Regions from separate parts of the Homo sapiens genome. Here all the other regions are linked to region 4. The links are contacts of gene promoters, found by promoter capture Hi-C in human tissues and cell types (Jung and others, 2019). All regions are on one chromosome and are shown on one strand. Each heading gives the region's core, a stretch centred on a gene start or on the middle of the fragment in contact. The rest is flanking DNA. Distances are from core to core; before and after follow the strand shown. Region 1 overlaps JOSD1 (Josephin domain containing 1). Region 2 holds the start of APOBEC3B-AS1 (APOBEC3B antisense RNA 1). Region 3 overlaps GTPBP1 (GTP binding protein 1). Region 4 holds the start of NPTXR (neuronal pentraxin receptor). Region 5 holds the start of APOBEC3C (apolipoprotein B mRNA editing enzyme catalytic subunit 3C).

Region 1 (2,819 bases), core at 37-2,536, 150 kb after region 4:
AAAAAAAATACCAGTATTTCTGCTGTGCACAGAAAAATTTTAAAAATACAAGATTTCTTAAGTTTTTTAGAGTTGACATCCTTGGCCTAACGTCTTGATTCTTTTCTGGAGATGGCATGTAGTAGCCTCTTGATCATGCACTTTATGTCCTGAGGAACTCGCCACACTTCCCTTTCTCCCCTTCACACGAAGCCCAAAGGTATGCCCCTTGAACCCTTCCTTCAAAATGGCCTTTCCCCAGCTCCTGGCCTGACAAGTTTATGAAGGTAAAATAATAGAATTAGAAATGCCTTCAGCATGGACCTTGTCTTAAAATACAGACTGGCTAAAGAAACCTGGAAGTAAATGGCTTCAAGCTGGGTGGGCAAACCAGTGCTGCAGCTGAGTTTTGTTTGCCTGGCACAAATTTTTTTTCAGTTGATTTATTGGGTATTTTAAGAAAAATTTATTCAAGTACTACACACACACACACACACACACACACACACACACAGAATGCCTTTAGGTGGGTCGTGCATTCCAGTAGGCCTCACTACTTTTTATTGCCTTATATCCAACCCCAGTTTATACATTTATGTCACCTGTCTAGGCTCCTGTATGCCTTTGAGTATTTAATGATTAATGATTACCAAGTTTGCAGGCCTTAACTAGAAAGCAGGAGTGACACCAGTTACTATCCATGCAAATGAAAAGATTGAATCCTATTTTCCAATGTTAAAAAAAAAAAAGGCTTGCATGAGGCAGGAAAATCAGTATCAGGAGGAAGAGCAGAAAGGCTGCAGGAGGCTGGGATTTCATAAGTGAGTCACCTTCATGGAACACTTACAAAATACTTAGGTAGAAGCTGGGGAAATTGCACTTGAATGTGGGGAAACTAACTTCCAGGGGCAGTGATGTAAAGTGCTCTCCATCCCTGGTAGTGCGGGGTCAGGGGGTTCAGGCATCCAGCAAGTCTCAGCCCTCCTCTTTTCACATTGGTAGGTTGTCTCCAAACACCATGGTGACACCTCACAAGAAGAGCATGCTGGGAAATGGCAACTACGATGTGAATGTCATTATGGCAGCACTTCAGACCAAAGGCTATGAAGCTGTTTGGTGGGACAAGCGCAGGTAATCTGAATCAGGCTTGACTTGATGGAGAACAGCACGGTTGTGGTATAAGCTTTTAGTACTTGGGCTCATGGCATGAGTGGGGAGGTAGCCAGTTGTGGTATTACAGCCAGGGAACCTTGGAAAATGGGCTGCATCAGAGCCTGCCACCATTTCTCCCCTGCAGGGATGTCGGTGTCATTGCCCTCACTAACGTCATGGGCTTCATCATGAATCTGCCCTCCAGCCTATGCTGGGGTCCACTGAAACTGCCCCTCAAAAGGCAGCACTGGATCTGTGTTCGAGAGGTGGGAGGGGCCTACTACAACCTCGACTCCAAACTCAAGATGCCCGAGTGGATTGGAGGCGAGAGCGAGCTCAGGTAATCGGCACCTTTTGTGACTAAGTTGCTAGGCTGCTTCATTTCTTAGGTTGGGGACACTGAGCTCATCTCTGGTTATTTGACAAAGGAAATGAAATTCCTGTGCCCTTGGATTCTCTCCCTGCCTTAGAATCATAGTGTCTCGGACCTGACCTTAATCTTCAATGGCGCATCAGTACTTTTAAGTCCTTTTGGTAGGGAAGATGCCCAGCCTGGGATACCAGCCTTCTAGTCTGGTGGGGCTGGCATTGTAACGTTCTCTCTATTTAAGACAACTGAGACAGTGTAGTTGCCAGTTCATAGAAAGGAAGACAAACATGCAGGCCAGGGAGCACTGAATTTCCCCAGGACCAAAGAACATTTGTAAAAGTTCTTTAGAGGCGATTGCTCACGCCTGTAATCTCAGCACTTTGGGAGGCCAAGGCGGGTGGATCACCTGAGGTCAGGAGTTCGAGACCAGCCTGACCAACACGGTGAAACTCTGTCTCTACTAAAAATACAAAAATTAGCCAGGCGTGGTGGCGGACGCCTGTAATCCCAGCTGGTCAGGAGGCTGAGGCAGGAGAATCACTTGAACCTGGGAGGCAGAGGTTGCAGTGAGCCGAGATCATGCCATTGCACTCCAGCCCAGGCGACAAGAGCGAAACTCCGTCTCCAAACAAACCAAGAAAAAGTCCTTTATATACTTTGGGTACTGTTATTCACAGATCCAGCTACTCTTGGCAGTAACTACAAGGATGAGCAAAATTCAGGTTGGAATTTTAACTGGACAGATTGGAGGGTAACCAAATGTGGAACCCTCCAAAACCAGATGACTACAGGGATGTGTTTTGGACTGCCGAGGGTAGAGTGAGGTTTCAGGTGACTTTGTGGTCCTGAGACTGGAATTTGCAACTTGCCAGCATTTCATTTTCTCTATCTCTTTTTCCATAGGAAGTTTCTAAAACATCATTTGCGAGGAAAGAACTGTGAACTCCTGCTGGTGGTACCAGAAGAGGTAGAGGCTCATCAGAGTTGGAGGACCGATGTGTAACAGTTCTGCCCAACCTCCCTCTCGCCTCAGCCCCTTCAGTCCTCTGTGACGTGCTGTGGCCTCTACAGTGGGTCTGCCCTTGCCACTTCCCCAAACATCTCATCAAGTTTTTCCCCTTCAGATCTGACAGTGCAATAGGACAGACGTGTGGACTGTTATAAGAACTACTCAGTGTTTTGTTCCTGGGCAAGGAAGGTAGGAGTTCTGTGCACTTAAGGCCAGTGGTCACAAACCCTTGTTTTATTTAAGAGACAGAGGAGAAAGTGGAGCGGGGAGGGAATCCTAGCTTATTTTCCCTTTTCTATGAGGACTTGA
Region 2 (2,713 bases), core at 64-2,563, 150 kb before region 4:
CTCAAGGCAGAAGAGGAGGGAAGGGGAGGGGTGGTGGTTTGGGTGACTGTGCAAGCCAGATGGGGGGTCCTCAAGCTCAGCCATTCCAGTGTGCTGCTCTCTCCTGAGAGGGAGGGAGGGAGGGAGGGAGGGAGGGAGGGAAGGAGGCAGGGAGGGAGGGAAGAAGGGAGGAAGAAAGGAAGGGAGGGAGGGAGGGAAGGAGGGAAGGAAGGGTCAAGGAAGGGAGGGAGGTGTTGTGGGAAGTCAGGGACCCCAAATGGAGGGACCAGCTGAAGCCATGACAGAAGAACGTGGATTGTGAAGATTTTATGGACATTTATTAGTTCCCCAAATTAATACTTTTGTAATTTCTTATGCCTGTCTTTACTGCAATCTCTAAACATAAATTGTAAAGATTTCATGGACACTTATCACTTCCCCAATCAATACCCTTGTGATTTCCTATGCCTGTCTTTACTTTAATCTCTTAATCCTGTCAGCCGAGGAGGATGTATTTCGCCTCAGGACCCTGTAATAATTGCATTAACTGCACAAATTGTACAGCATGTGTGTTTGAGCAATATGAAATGTGGGCACCCTGAAAAAAGAACAGGATAACAGCAATTGTTCAGGGAATAAGAGAGATAACCTTAAACTCTGACCACCGGTGAGCCGGGCAGAACAGAGCCATATTTCTCTTCTTTCAAAAGCAAATGGGAGAAATATCGCTGAATTCTTTTTCTCAGCAAGGAACATCCCTGAGAAAGAGAATGCGCACCTAGGGGTAGGTCTCTGAACTGGCCCCCCCAGGGCGTACCTGTCTCTTATGGTCGAGATTACAGAGGTGAGATAGACTCCAGTCTCCCATAGCGCTCCCAGGCTTATTAGGAAGAGGAAATTCCCGCCTACTAAATTTTGGTCAGACGGGTTGCTCTTAAAACCCTGTCTCCTGATAAGATGTTATCAATGACAATGGTGCCCGAAACTTCATTAGCAATTTTAATTTTGCCTCAGTCCTGAGGTCCTGTGATCTCGCCCTGCCTCCACTTGCCTTGTGATATTCTATTACCCTGTTAAGTACTTGATGTCTGTGACCCACACCTATTCACACACTCCCTCCCCTTTTGAAAATCCCTAATAAAAACTTGCTGGTTTTTGCGGCTTGTGAGGCATCACGGATCCTACCAACATGTGATGTCTCCCCCGGAAGCCCAGCTTTAAAATTTCTCTCTTTTGTACTCTGTCCCTTTATTTCTCAAGCCAGCCGACACTTAAGAAAATAGAAAAGAACCTACATGATTATCGGACCAGGTCCCCTGATAGGGAGGGAAGGAGGGAAGGGTGAAGGAAGGAAGGGAGGGAGGGAGGGAGATAGGGAGGGAAGGAAGGAAGGAGGGAGGGAGGGAGGGAAGGTGGGAGGGAGAGAGGGAGGGAAGGAAGGAAGAGTCAATGAAGGGAGGGAGGGAAGGAAGGAAGGGTCAATGAAGGGAGGGAGGGAAGGAAGGAAGAAAGGAAGGAAGGGAAGGAGGGAGGGAGAGAGGGAGGGAAGGAAGGGTCAATGAAGGGAGGGAAGGAAGGGAGGGAGGGAGGGAGGGAAGGGGGGAGGCAAGGAAGGACAACTGGTTCATTCATATACTAGTTCCTTCATTCCTTCAACAGTAACCCAAGAGCACCCACTCAGGGCCACGGCTCAGGCAGGAACCTGGGATGCAAGGATGGATGGCACATGGTCCTCCCTCCAGGAGATCACAGTGTAGGGAAATCAACGAGGACCCATAGTGAGCCCCTCCATCCCACGTACCCCCTCCTCTATCCACTTGTGGGCACTGCAGCCTGGACTTCTGCATCAGCAGCTGTGTGGAGGTCTGTTACCCTGAGATCTGCAGCCAGGACAGGGGGCTGTGCCCAGGAACAAGGTAGGTCAAAGGGAGGTGGGAGAGCCCAGGCGGGTGGGCGCAGCATGGGAGGGTGTGTTGCAGGAGGCTGTGGTGGCTGCTCTGCTCCAGTGACCAGAGGGAATGGCTCTAGCTACCTGGTGGGCTGGTGTTGGGCACACGAGGCATTGTCGGGGGGGCTATGATCGTGTGTAGGTCCCTCCCAGAGGGCCCCAGGCCCTGGGTTTCCATCTTTGTGGCTTCCATGCAACTGCGTTGTGCAATGTGTTTGGTCTGAGCCTGATGGGAGGAAGAAAGCTGGTCTTGTGGGGGGCTCCCCTTTCCCTACCAATCTGGGATTCCTGTGTCCATCCCCAGCTAACACCTGGTTGTGAAGGACACTGGTGTCCAGCAGGACAGGGTGTCACCATCTGATCACTCTACATGGTAGGATAGGCAAGTCTCCCCTCGCCCTTTGGCCAGCTGTAGGTTTTCATAGTTAAAGTTGAAGTCCAGGTCAGGCGCGGTGGCTCACACTTGTAATCCCAGCACTTTGGGAGGCTGAGGCGGGCAGATCACCTGAGGCCAGGAGTTCGAGACCTGCCTGGCCAACACGGTGAAACCCCATCTACTAAAATACAAAAATTAGCCGGGCATGGTGGTTCGTACCTGTAATCCCAGCTACTCAGGAGGCTGAGGCAGGAGAATCGCTCGAACTCGGGAGGCAGAGGTTGCAGTGAGCTGAGATGGTGCCATTGCACTCCAGCGGGGGTGACAGAGTGAGACTCTCTCAAAAAACAAAAACAAACAAACAAAAAAAAGTTGAAGTCCTTTGGAGACATCTGGCATCCAGAGGTCAG
Region 3 (2,800 bases), core at 12-2,511, 140 kb after region 4:
CAGTGGGGAGAGAGGACGACCTCTGTTATCCCAGCTATCCAGACTAAATAGTCAGTAGGGTCTGGGGCAAGGAGCCTGACAAGAGAGGAATTCTGGGCATCTTTTCTCTGCTGACACCAAGAAGAATCACGGAGGTCCTCTGCTAAGCAGAAAATAAGTCGCAATGGGATCTGTAAACAGGGCCTGGAAGGGAAGACCTCCAGCTGCCCAGGAATAAGCTTAATTCTAGACCTAACTATGGCTTGCCCTATTACCTTAGACAAGAAGTTCCTTTGCTTTGTGCTTCATTTCCTCTTATGCAAATAGAGAGTACTGGAGGTAAAAAGGAAGCATCTGTAAAACTGCTTGGAAAGTCAAGCATATTATGGCCACTAAGGTCAGAATTAACATTCACTTTGTACTTTTATGTACTCCAAACAGTTCTGCAGACACTAAAGAATCACTGTAACTGAGACACATAAGCAGAAAAGTTCAAAAAGCGGGGAAAATGTGCTCTAAATAATTTCTTTTTTTTTTTGAGACAGAGTTTCACTCTTGTCGCCTAGGCTGGAGCACAATGGCACGATCTTGGCTCACTGCAACCTCCGCCTCCCAGGTTCAAGCAATTCTTCTGCCTCAGCCTCCCAAGTAGCTGGGATTACAGGCGCCTGCCACCACTAATTAGCGCCCGGCTAATTTTTTGTATTTTTAGTAGAGATGGGGTTTCACCATGTTGGCCAGGCTGGTCTCGAACTCCTGACCTCAGGTGATCCACCCGTCTTGGCCTCCCAAAGTGCTGGGATTACAGGCGGCAGGGCCACCGCACCCGGCCCAATAATTTTTAAAAATAAAGTGAAAGGAAAACTATGCTCACCTGATCCCTGCCCAATGACATATATGGTCTCTCCGCATCCCTCGTCCATCCTCTCCCACATCTGCCGAAGTAGGCTGTCATACTGCTCTGATGTAGGGCTCACTAGAACCAGCTAGAAAAGAAACCAACAGCCTTAGGACCACACTTGCTAGAAGAGCACCACAGCCAAAGCTGATCAATATAGCCTAACCAAAGATCCTGACTGAACCCCATAGCACCCTCATCTAAAAAGGCTGCACAGCCCCTTCATGCCCTCTCTGCTTCTCCTGAAGTAGCCTTTGAGCCTCAGGCCTTATATGAGCCAAATAATATACTACAATGTGTATGTCTGAGCCATAACCCATGGTAAAGAGGGCACAAGCAGCCTGCCTCCTGCTGCTTAACAGGAAGGGCAGGACCCAAGTGACTGAGAATATGGCACTGTGGATAGAAAGCGCAGTGCTTTCCATCTACATGCCAAAGTCTTCTACCTGCAGTTGGCATCTGGAAGCCCACAAGACATATACCTCATATACCTCCATGCCCTCCACCCACAGGCCAGTGGCTTCCAGGATAACAAAAGAATTCTGTTCTATCTTGTCTTAGCTATATTGAATATTTGGGAATGAAAACTGCCTGCAAGACTCATCTTCATCAACAAAGCACCATCACCATTACCACTACGAGGAGTATTAGCACCGTCATTTTGCAAATGTCTGCCAATAACATTGAAGTGTCAACCATTTACTTGGGTAAGCCATTTGGCAATCAGACCCCATTCTCTAACCACTCCTGTGTGACCTTGGACAAAGAATTTAACCACTCTGAGTTTCAGTTTTTCAATCTATAAAACGGAGCTAATACTACCTGCATCCTAAGGCCACTGTAAAGAGCAAATATAATAACATGTAAAGCATCTAGTCCACAGCTCAATAAATGTGAAACTACAAGGTTTTCTTCACCCAATCATTCCCAGAAAAACCTTGTTGGATGAAACTAGCCACCACTATTCACTAAGTGTTTCTCCCTTTGGAAGCTCTCGGAGCCTTAGGTCTCCACATTTTCTATCGTAAGGACATGAACCTTTCGCTTCTAATCTGTTCCTCCGGAATCAATCTATTCAACCCAACCCTTCTCTCCCTCCACACCATCACTTTTTCTTTTTGATATCATCGATATTAATATACATATGATTTTTTTTAATTGTAAGGAGGACTTCCCCAGCTATGTGATGAAATAACACTTCTAGGAATATTAAATGAGCTGGTCAAGAAATGAAGGTACTACCGTCTTTGCAACTCTGCCCTGCAATTTCCTATCATGTTTCTTCAGCACCTTGACCATGTGTTGACATCCAGTTTGTTTGCTCTTGAGTCAGGTCCATAATCTTGTAACTTCCTGAGTTGACTCATCAGAGCTTGTAATTGTAACCTGGATGTTTCCTGGGTCTTTTACATCGTCCTGGCCATCCCTCTCTCTAAGTTTGGCCATCCTCATTATGGCCTTACAGGCACAAGACAGGACCAACTTTGACAGGCTAGCTGGCTTCCAAGTGCTCACCTGAGACTACAATGGCAAAGAGCAGTTGAAAATAACTTGCTTAGGTTGCAGGGAAAGTTCCTCCCCAGTTTAGGACCAAGTTTCATGCAAATTTGCCGCCATAAACTATAAAAAGTCACAAACATTTTCAAAGCTGGATAAAATGTCTATCGTAACTATCCTACAAATGTAAGTGGTGGTATTGGTGTTCTATCTTTCACCCACTGCTATTTAATCTGCACAGGAAATTAGGAACTATCTCGTTCACTTCAAACATTTACTGAGTCTCTAGTATGCATCAGGCACTATTAGGTGTCTTCTTAAATATTTCTAATTTTTACAACCCATCTGTACTTTCTTAAGATGAGGTGGTTGGAGAACTGAAAGGTTAAGAAACTTTCCCAACGTCACAGAGCCTTTCGATGGTAG
Region 4 (3,054 bases), core at 364-2,863:
GGAGTCCCGATGTCTCATGCATCCCCAGGACTTTAGCAGGGCCTACCGCTGGCCTTTGCCTTCCAAGAGCCCAGCCCATCTCTCTGTCCATGAGATGCTTCCTCCAAGCCCAGCTGCCTGCCCTGGGTTTTGAGGTTACGACTTCAGTGAGCACCAGCACACATCCACGCACACACAGCACTCAGGTTCCTGGCATACAGCGCTTGTGTTTGCTTCTCTCCTCTTTCACAACTCAGGTATGGATGAAAATCCCTGGCTCCTAGAGATGGGTGAACAGGGTGGACATCATCCTAACATGTGTGGAGAGAGGGAGGTGGAGCACGTGTGCCTGGGAACACTGGACAAAATCCCCGTGGCTGGAGAGCGTCCCCCAGGGTTGTGGCTTCCTGGGAAACATTCCGGTCTCTCCCCACCACCAGCGCTATGTGAAGTACACTCGAAACCACAGTGGTAGCCGTGGTGGTCCAGAGATCCTGGTTTGCGCTTTCCCTTCAAGTCAAAAATGCAGGCTTGGAAGGGAGACAGAGCTGGGAATAACCACAGCCCTCCCAAGGCCCTTCCAGCCCTGGGAATCCGTATTGGTCAGGAAAGACCTCATGGAAAATTGGAGCTGGGGATAAAGTGTGGAGGATAGTAGGATTGTTTTTAAGTTTTTAATTGCAAAGTTAATTTTCAACAAAATATATATAGACATTTTTGACAGAAGAAAGTAAAACGCTCCTCTGCCACCCCCACAGCACAGCCCACTCCCATTCCTGCTGTTCCTTCTGGGCCTGGTCCACATGCCCACCAGGCACGTGGCACCGCTTGCCAACGAAGGCAGACTGCAGTGGGGGTGGGGGGTTTCTCTGGACCTGTGAGGCTCTAAGCCCCCAAGGATTCAGAGGAGAGAATTTCCATCATCCTCTGAGATCACAGGAAGATTCTGTAATGAGGGTGGCGGGGAGTGAACTCTGCTCCTTCAGAAGGTTGGAGGTGGGGGTGACGGGCAGGTGGCCACAGTATAAACAGAAGTTAGGTCAAAATCCGAGCCTCCCCCCAACCCCCAACACTGGCCTCTTCTCCACCTCTAACCGCTCCCACTCCAGCCCCATCCACAGTCTGGTCCGGTGAAACGTGCCTAAGCTCGCAGGCGGCTCCAACGCAGCCACCCGGTGACCTTGGACAGAGGCCTGACCTCAGGTGTCTCAGTTTCCTCATTTCTATTGTGAGCCTGTCCACGGCAAGGCTCAATTGCGACCGAGCTTGTGGCGCGCCCAGTGCACAGCCCCACCCGGAAGAAAGCTCCCTCCCGGGTGGATGTGAACATAACCGGCTTGGGGAGGGGGCCCGAGCACGGGAGGGCTGGGATGGGGGTCACCCAGGAGCCCCGCCGCGCGGCCCTCGGGTCGCCGGCCCCTGCGCTGTGACCGCGGCGAGATAAGGTCCCAGGCGCTGCCCTCGCTCCTCGCCGCATCCCCGGCGGCGCCCCCAGCCGGGCGCCCGGCACTGAACGGGTGCGGGGCTGGGCCGGGGCCAGGGCCGGCCCGGGGAAGCGAGTGGGGCGGGGCCGCCGCGCCCGCTCCCCCTCCCCGCCGCCTGCCGTCTTCTCCTCCTCCCGCCGCCCGGGCTCAGAGCGGCGGCAGCAGCGGCCGCGGCGACAGCTCCAGCTCCGGCTCCGGCTCCGGCTCCGGCTCCGGCTCCCGCGCCTGCCCCGCTCGGCCCAGCGCGCCCGGGCTCCGCGCCCCGACCCCGCCGCCGCGCCTGCCGGGGGCCTCGGGCGCCCCCGCCGCCCGCCTCACGCTGAAGTTCCTGGCCGTGCTGCTGGCCGCGGGCATGCTGGCGTTCCTCGGTGCCGTCATCTGCATCATCGCCAGCGTGCCCCTGGCGGCCAGCCCGGCGCGGGCGCTGCCCGGCGGCGCCGACAATGCTTCGGTCGCCTCGGGCGCCGCCGCGTCCCCGGGCCCGCAGCGGAGCCTGAGCGCGCTGCACGGCGCGGGCGGTTCAGCCGGGCCCCCCGCGCTGCCCGGGGCACCCGCGGCCAGCGCGCACCCGCTGCCGCCCGGGCCCCTGTTCAGCCGCTTCCTGTGCACGCCGCTGGCTGCTGCCTGCCCGTCGGGGGCCCAGCAGGGGGACGCGGCGGGCGCTGCGCCGGGCGAGCGCGAAGAGCTGCTGCTGCTGCAGAGCACGGCCGAGCAGCTGCGCCAGACGGCGCTGCAGCAGGAGGCGCGCATCCGCGCCGACCAGGACACCATCCGTGAGCTCACCGGCAAGCTGGGCCGCTGCGAGAGCGGCCTGCCGCGCGGCCTCCAGGGCGCCGGGCCCCGCCGCGACACCATGGCCGACGGGCCCTGGGACTCGCCTGCGCTCATTCTGGAGCTGGAGGACGCCGTGCGCGCCCTGCGGGACCGCATCGACCGCCTGGAGGTGAGCGCCGCGCGCCGTCGGGGGAGCCGCCCGGGTGGTGTGAGGGGCCGCCCGGCCGCGGTCGTCCGGCGGTCCCCGAGCCTCCGGTCTCCCGTCTGTGTTCCGGGGACGATCGCGCCTTCCTCGCTGGCGAGGCGGGGGGATTTCGATAGGGAACGCGGGCAGGCGTCTGGCACGGTGACTGAGGCACAGAGGGCGCGCCAGAAAGATTCGCTCCCCACCCTTTTCCGTCTCCAGGCACCTCTCTGAGCCTCAGTTTCTGTGTCTGTAAAATAGGTATAACAGTGTCCACTTGTAGTGGAAATTGAATCAAATGTAGGTGTGTGAAAATGCTTGGCACGTACTAGGACCTCATTAAATGTCCCTTTCATTTCCTTCTTCCGGACACCCCCAAATCAGCCCAGCTCCACGCTCACACTTTATGGCCAGGAGATGGATGCGCTGTCCAAAGGACTTGGGGTCCTCCCCTCATTACACAGAGCCGGGAACAGAGTGCCCTATAAGACAAACCTGGGTGCCCCTCACCACCTCCCTACCCTGAATCTCCCACTCTGGCTCAGACTATGACCCAAACCGCAGGAGCTCAGGTGCCAGGCGCCCAGCCTCACACACCTGGAAGCCCACAGCTCTTGGGTGGGGGCTGAATGG
Region 5 (2,794 bases), core at 166-2,665, 170 kb before region 4:
CGTTCCGATCGTTGGCTTCCCATAGGTTTTTAAATTGGAAGTAGAATGTGCCTGGATACATTGCCTTCATCGGGTTTCTGAAGGCACAAGAGAGAAACCCCAATGCAGAGACCCCCGCACCGGAGTCCTCAGGGCTGATGCCCACTGAACACAGCTGCCTGGACGTCCCTGGGCTCTGGGCCTCCCCCATCCCTCCACAGCCCTGAGAATGTCTGCTGCTTTCCCAGGCAGGAAGACGGGGAGAGAGAAAGAGGAGGGGACGCTGGCAGGGGCAGCAGGGCCGGGGTGACCTCTCCTAGCTGGAACCCCAGCTCTGGGGCTACCAATGGAACACCCTCAACCTCCCAGTTTTTCTGCTACTTTTTTTTTTTTTTTTTTAAAGACGGCATCTCGCTCTGTCCCCCAGGCTGGAGTTTGCAATCTCAGCTCACTGCAACCTCCACCCCTCGGGTTCAAGGGATTCTCCTGCCTCAGCCTCCCAAGTAGCTGGGATTACAGACGCCCGCCAGCACCCCTGGCTAATTTTCTGTATTTTCAGTAGAGACGAGGTTTCACCATGTTAGTCAGGCTGGTCTCAAACTCCTGACCACAAGTGACCCGCCCGCCTCAGCCTCCCAAAGTGCTAGGATTACAGGCATAAGCCACCGTGCCTGGCCTAAAATAAGAGCATTTCTCCTGATCATCATATTTTTTCCTACACTCCATGTTGCAGGTGTCATTCTGAAAGGTGAACGGTGCTCACAGAGGAGGAGCCTGTGTCTGGGGTCGTGTGCATCCTACTCTGCTCACAGTGGAGGCATCTTTGGAAGAAGTGACTTATTTTCTGGTACAGAGACCATTCCCTCCCCCACACCCTCTCCTAAGACTTTGTATTGAAACAAAGTAAATCTTACAGAAATTGCACCAAAGCGCTGAGAACAAAATGCCTGATTGCTCAAATCATCCTTTGGTTCAATTCTCCCAGTTCCAGAGCTCCCAGGAATAGTGGGAAGCACACAGAGGAAGCACCCTCCCAGGGCGGGAAGCACCAGCCCGGGCATGATTTTCGGGGGAGAGTCTCAGCAGGCGGACTGGGCTGGGGCAAGTGGGGAAGGTGGCCCATTCAGAAGCAGCAGTCGTGGGACCACACAGCAGGGCAAGGAGCTTGGCTGGGAGTGGGGGCAGCGGGGGAACCAGGGGGGAGGGAGCCCAGAGGTGGGGCTGGGGCAGGGGGAGGCCAGGGCTGAGGCCCAGCAGGACCGCCTGGCAGGAAGTGGCAGGAGGGGCCTGGCGGACAAAGCGTGCAGAGGTACCTGATCTGTGGATTCATGTTCAGCCTCTTAGATATGCTTGTCCCTGTCCCACTCTTTTCTGAAGCGCTGTGGCTTCTCTTCCTGCTTACAGCGTCCTTGCAGTTGAGCAGCCCTCTTTAAAGTGACCTCCCAGGGCCTTGTGAATCATGGCCCCTCCCCATTCCTGCTCAGGCACTGGTGTGGGAGGCCCCGGGGTGCTTCATGTTTCTCTGGCTCTGGCCCTCTTTCTGGTTTTCTCCGGGCCCCTCCTACTGGCAGAGGAACCTCCGATAAAGACAGGCTGCTCTGTCTTTATCTGTCCTGGGCAGGACCCAACGGAACTGCAAAAAGAAGAGAAAGAGAAAGAGAAAGGCATTGCAGCCTGAGCCTGGGACGCGGGTCCAGACCCAGCTGAGAGAGGGGCAGGTGCCCCGTTGCCTGGTGGTTGGGCAGGCTGGAGCCCCCTCTCCACCACCCCCTCCCCAGCCCTAATGTGTGCCCAGAGCTTTGAGCAGCACCACCCTGTTGAGTGAGGGGAGGTTTTGAGACCCCAGTGGGGAAGGAAGTGTGGACTCCGCACAGCACAAGCGAAGGCTTAGGTGTGCCTCGAGTTCCCAGCTGTGTGCTGAGTCCATCGCACGCATCCCCTCTTCCAACCTCCCAGCTTCCAGAAGGTGGGGGGCAGTTCAGCCCCTCAGAGATGTGGGCGGAGGATTACCTAGGTGCTGAGGCAAGAGACTGAAGGCACAAACTGTTTCAGTATAATAAAGAATATACTTACAATAAGAATAGTTATAATACAAATTAGATACAGAGATGATCATGGACATTATCAATCATTAGTGTAGATATTATTAATCATTAGCTTTTAATATTACTCTTTATTGTATTACTAATATAACCAAGAAATAACCGGTGGGTATAGGGTCAGGTGCTGAAGGGCTGTTGTGAGAAGTGACCGAGAATGCAAGAGGTGAGCCCTCTGTCACACCCGCATAAGGGCTACTGGAGGGCTCCTTGGTCAGGCGGTAACGCCAGTGCCTAGGAAGGCATCGTTACTTAGCGGACCACGAAAGGGAGTCTCCCTTTTCTTGGAGGAGTCAGGGAACGCTCAGCTCCACCAGCTTCTTGTGGGAGGCTGGATAGTATCCAGGCCTGCCTGCAGCCATCCGGAGGCCTAAACCCCTCCCTGTGATGCTGTGCTTCAATGGTCACGCTCCTTGTCCACTTTCCTCCTGTACTCCTGGTCCCTCTTTGAAGTTCTCAGAAGATAGCGGTAGAAGAAATAGTGAAAGTCTTAAAGTCTTTGATCTTTCTGATAGGTGCATAGAAGAAAACGCTGACGTATACTGCCTTCCCTCTCTGCTTCGGCTACCTATAAGGGAAGGGCCCCCTGTCCTATGATCACGTGACTTGCTCGACCTTATCAATCACTTGGACGACTCACCCTCCTTACCCTGCCCCCCTTGTCTTGTATGCAATAAATAACAGTGCACGCAACCATTTGGGGCCACTACCCATCT

The links. Contacts are between HindIII fragments. The study calls those that stand out against the background at their distance.
Region 1: a contact is called between a fragment that was not itself captured here and the fragment with the promoter of NPTXR in region 4, in 3 of the 25 tissues and cell types used here (aorta, dorsolateral prefrontal cortex and spleen).
Region 2: a contact is called between a fragment that was not itself captured here and the fragment with the promoter of NPTXR in region 4, in 3 of the 25 tissues and cell types used here (aorta, lymphoblastoid cells and spleen).
Region 3: a contact is called between a fragment that was not itself captured here and the fragment with the promoter of NPTXR in region 4, in 2 of the 25 tissues and cell types used here (dorsolateral prefrontal cortex and spleen).
Region 5: the fragment with the promoter of APOBEC3C here is called in contact with the fragment with the promoter of NPTXR in region 4 in 2 of the 25 tissues and cell types used here (adrenal gland and spleen).

Annotation. Positions count from the first base shown.
Region 1 is chr22:38,687,587-38,690,405 of GRCh38, reverse strand. JOSD1 (Josephin domain containing 1) reads left to right here. Exons shown (of 5, transcript NM_001360236.2): 3 at 982-1,110; 4 at 1,277-1,471; 5 at 2,405-2,819. The coding sequence ends at 2,504. Among named protein-coding and RNA genes, the nearest start is that of TOMM22, 7.0 kb to the right of the region's middle. The HindIII fragment of the contact is 8,429 bases long and covers 1-2,819 here.
Region 2 is chr22:38,996,663-38,999,375 of GRCh38, reverse strand. APOBEC3B-AS1 (APOBEC3B antisense RNA 1) reads left to right here and starts at 1,156. Exons shown (of 5, transcript NR_104187.1): 1 at 1,156-1,290; 2 at 1,639-1,895. RefSeq lists an enhancer at 651-1,291. The HindIII fragment of the contact is 5,994 bases long and covers 1-2,713 here.
Region 3 is chr22:38,707,010-38,709,809 of GRCh38, reverse strand. GTPBP1 (GTP binding protein 1) reads right to left here. Exons shown (of 12, transcript NM_004286.5): 2 at 854-965. Among named protein-coding and RNA genes, the nearest start is that of GTPBP1, 2.5 kb to the right of the region's middle. The HindIII fragment of the contact is 3,166 bases long and covers 1-2,800 here.
Region 4 is chr22:38,842,587-38,845,640 of GRCh38, reverse strand. NPTXR (neuronal pentraxin receptor) reads left to right here and starts at 1,613. Exons shown (of 5, transcript NM_014293.4): 1 at 1,613-2,406. The coding sequence starts at 1,783. RefSeq lists a silencer at 2,025-2,094. The HindIII fragment of the contact is 15,093 bases long and covers 1-3,054 here.
Region 5 is chr22:39,012,878-39,015,671 of GRCh38, reverse strand. It overlaps APOBEC3C (apolipoprotein B mRNA editing enzyme catalytic subunit 3C), which reads right to left and starts at 1,415. Exons shown (of 4, transcript NM_014508.3): 1 at 1,293-1,415; 2 at 1-77. The coding sequence starts at 1,309. RefSeq lists a silencer at 1,125-1,174 and enhancers at 1,285-1,394, 967-1,584, 1,314-1,608, 1,585-2,203. The HindIII fragment of the contact is 14,453 bases long and covers 1-2,794 here.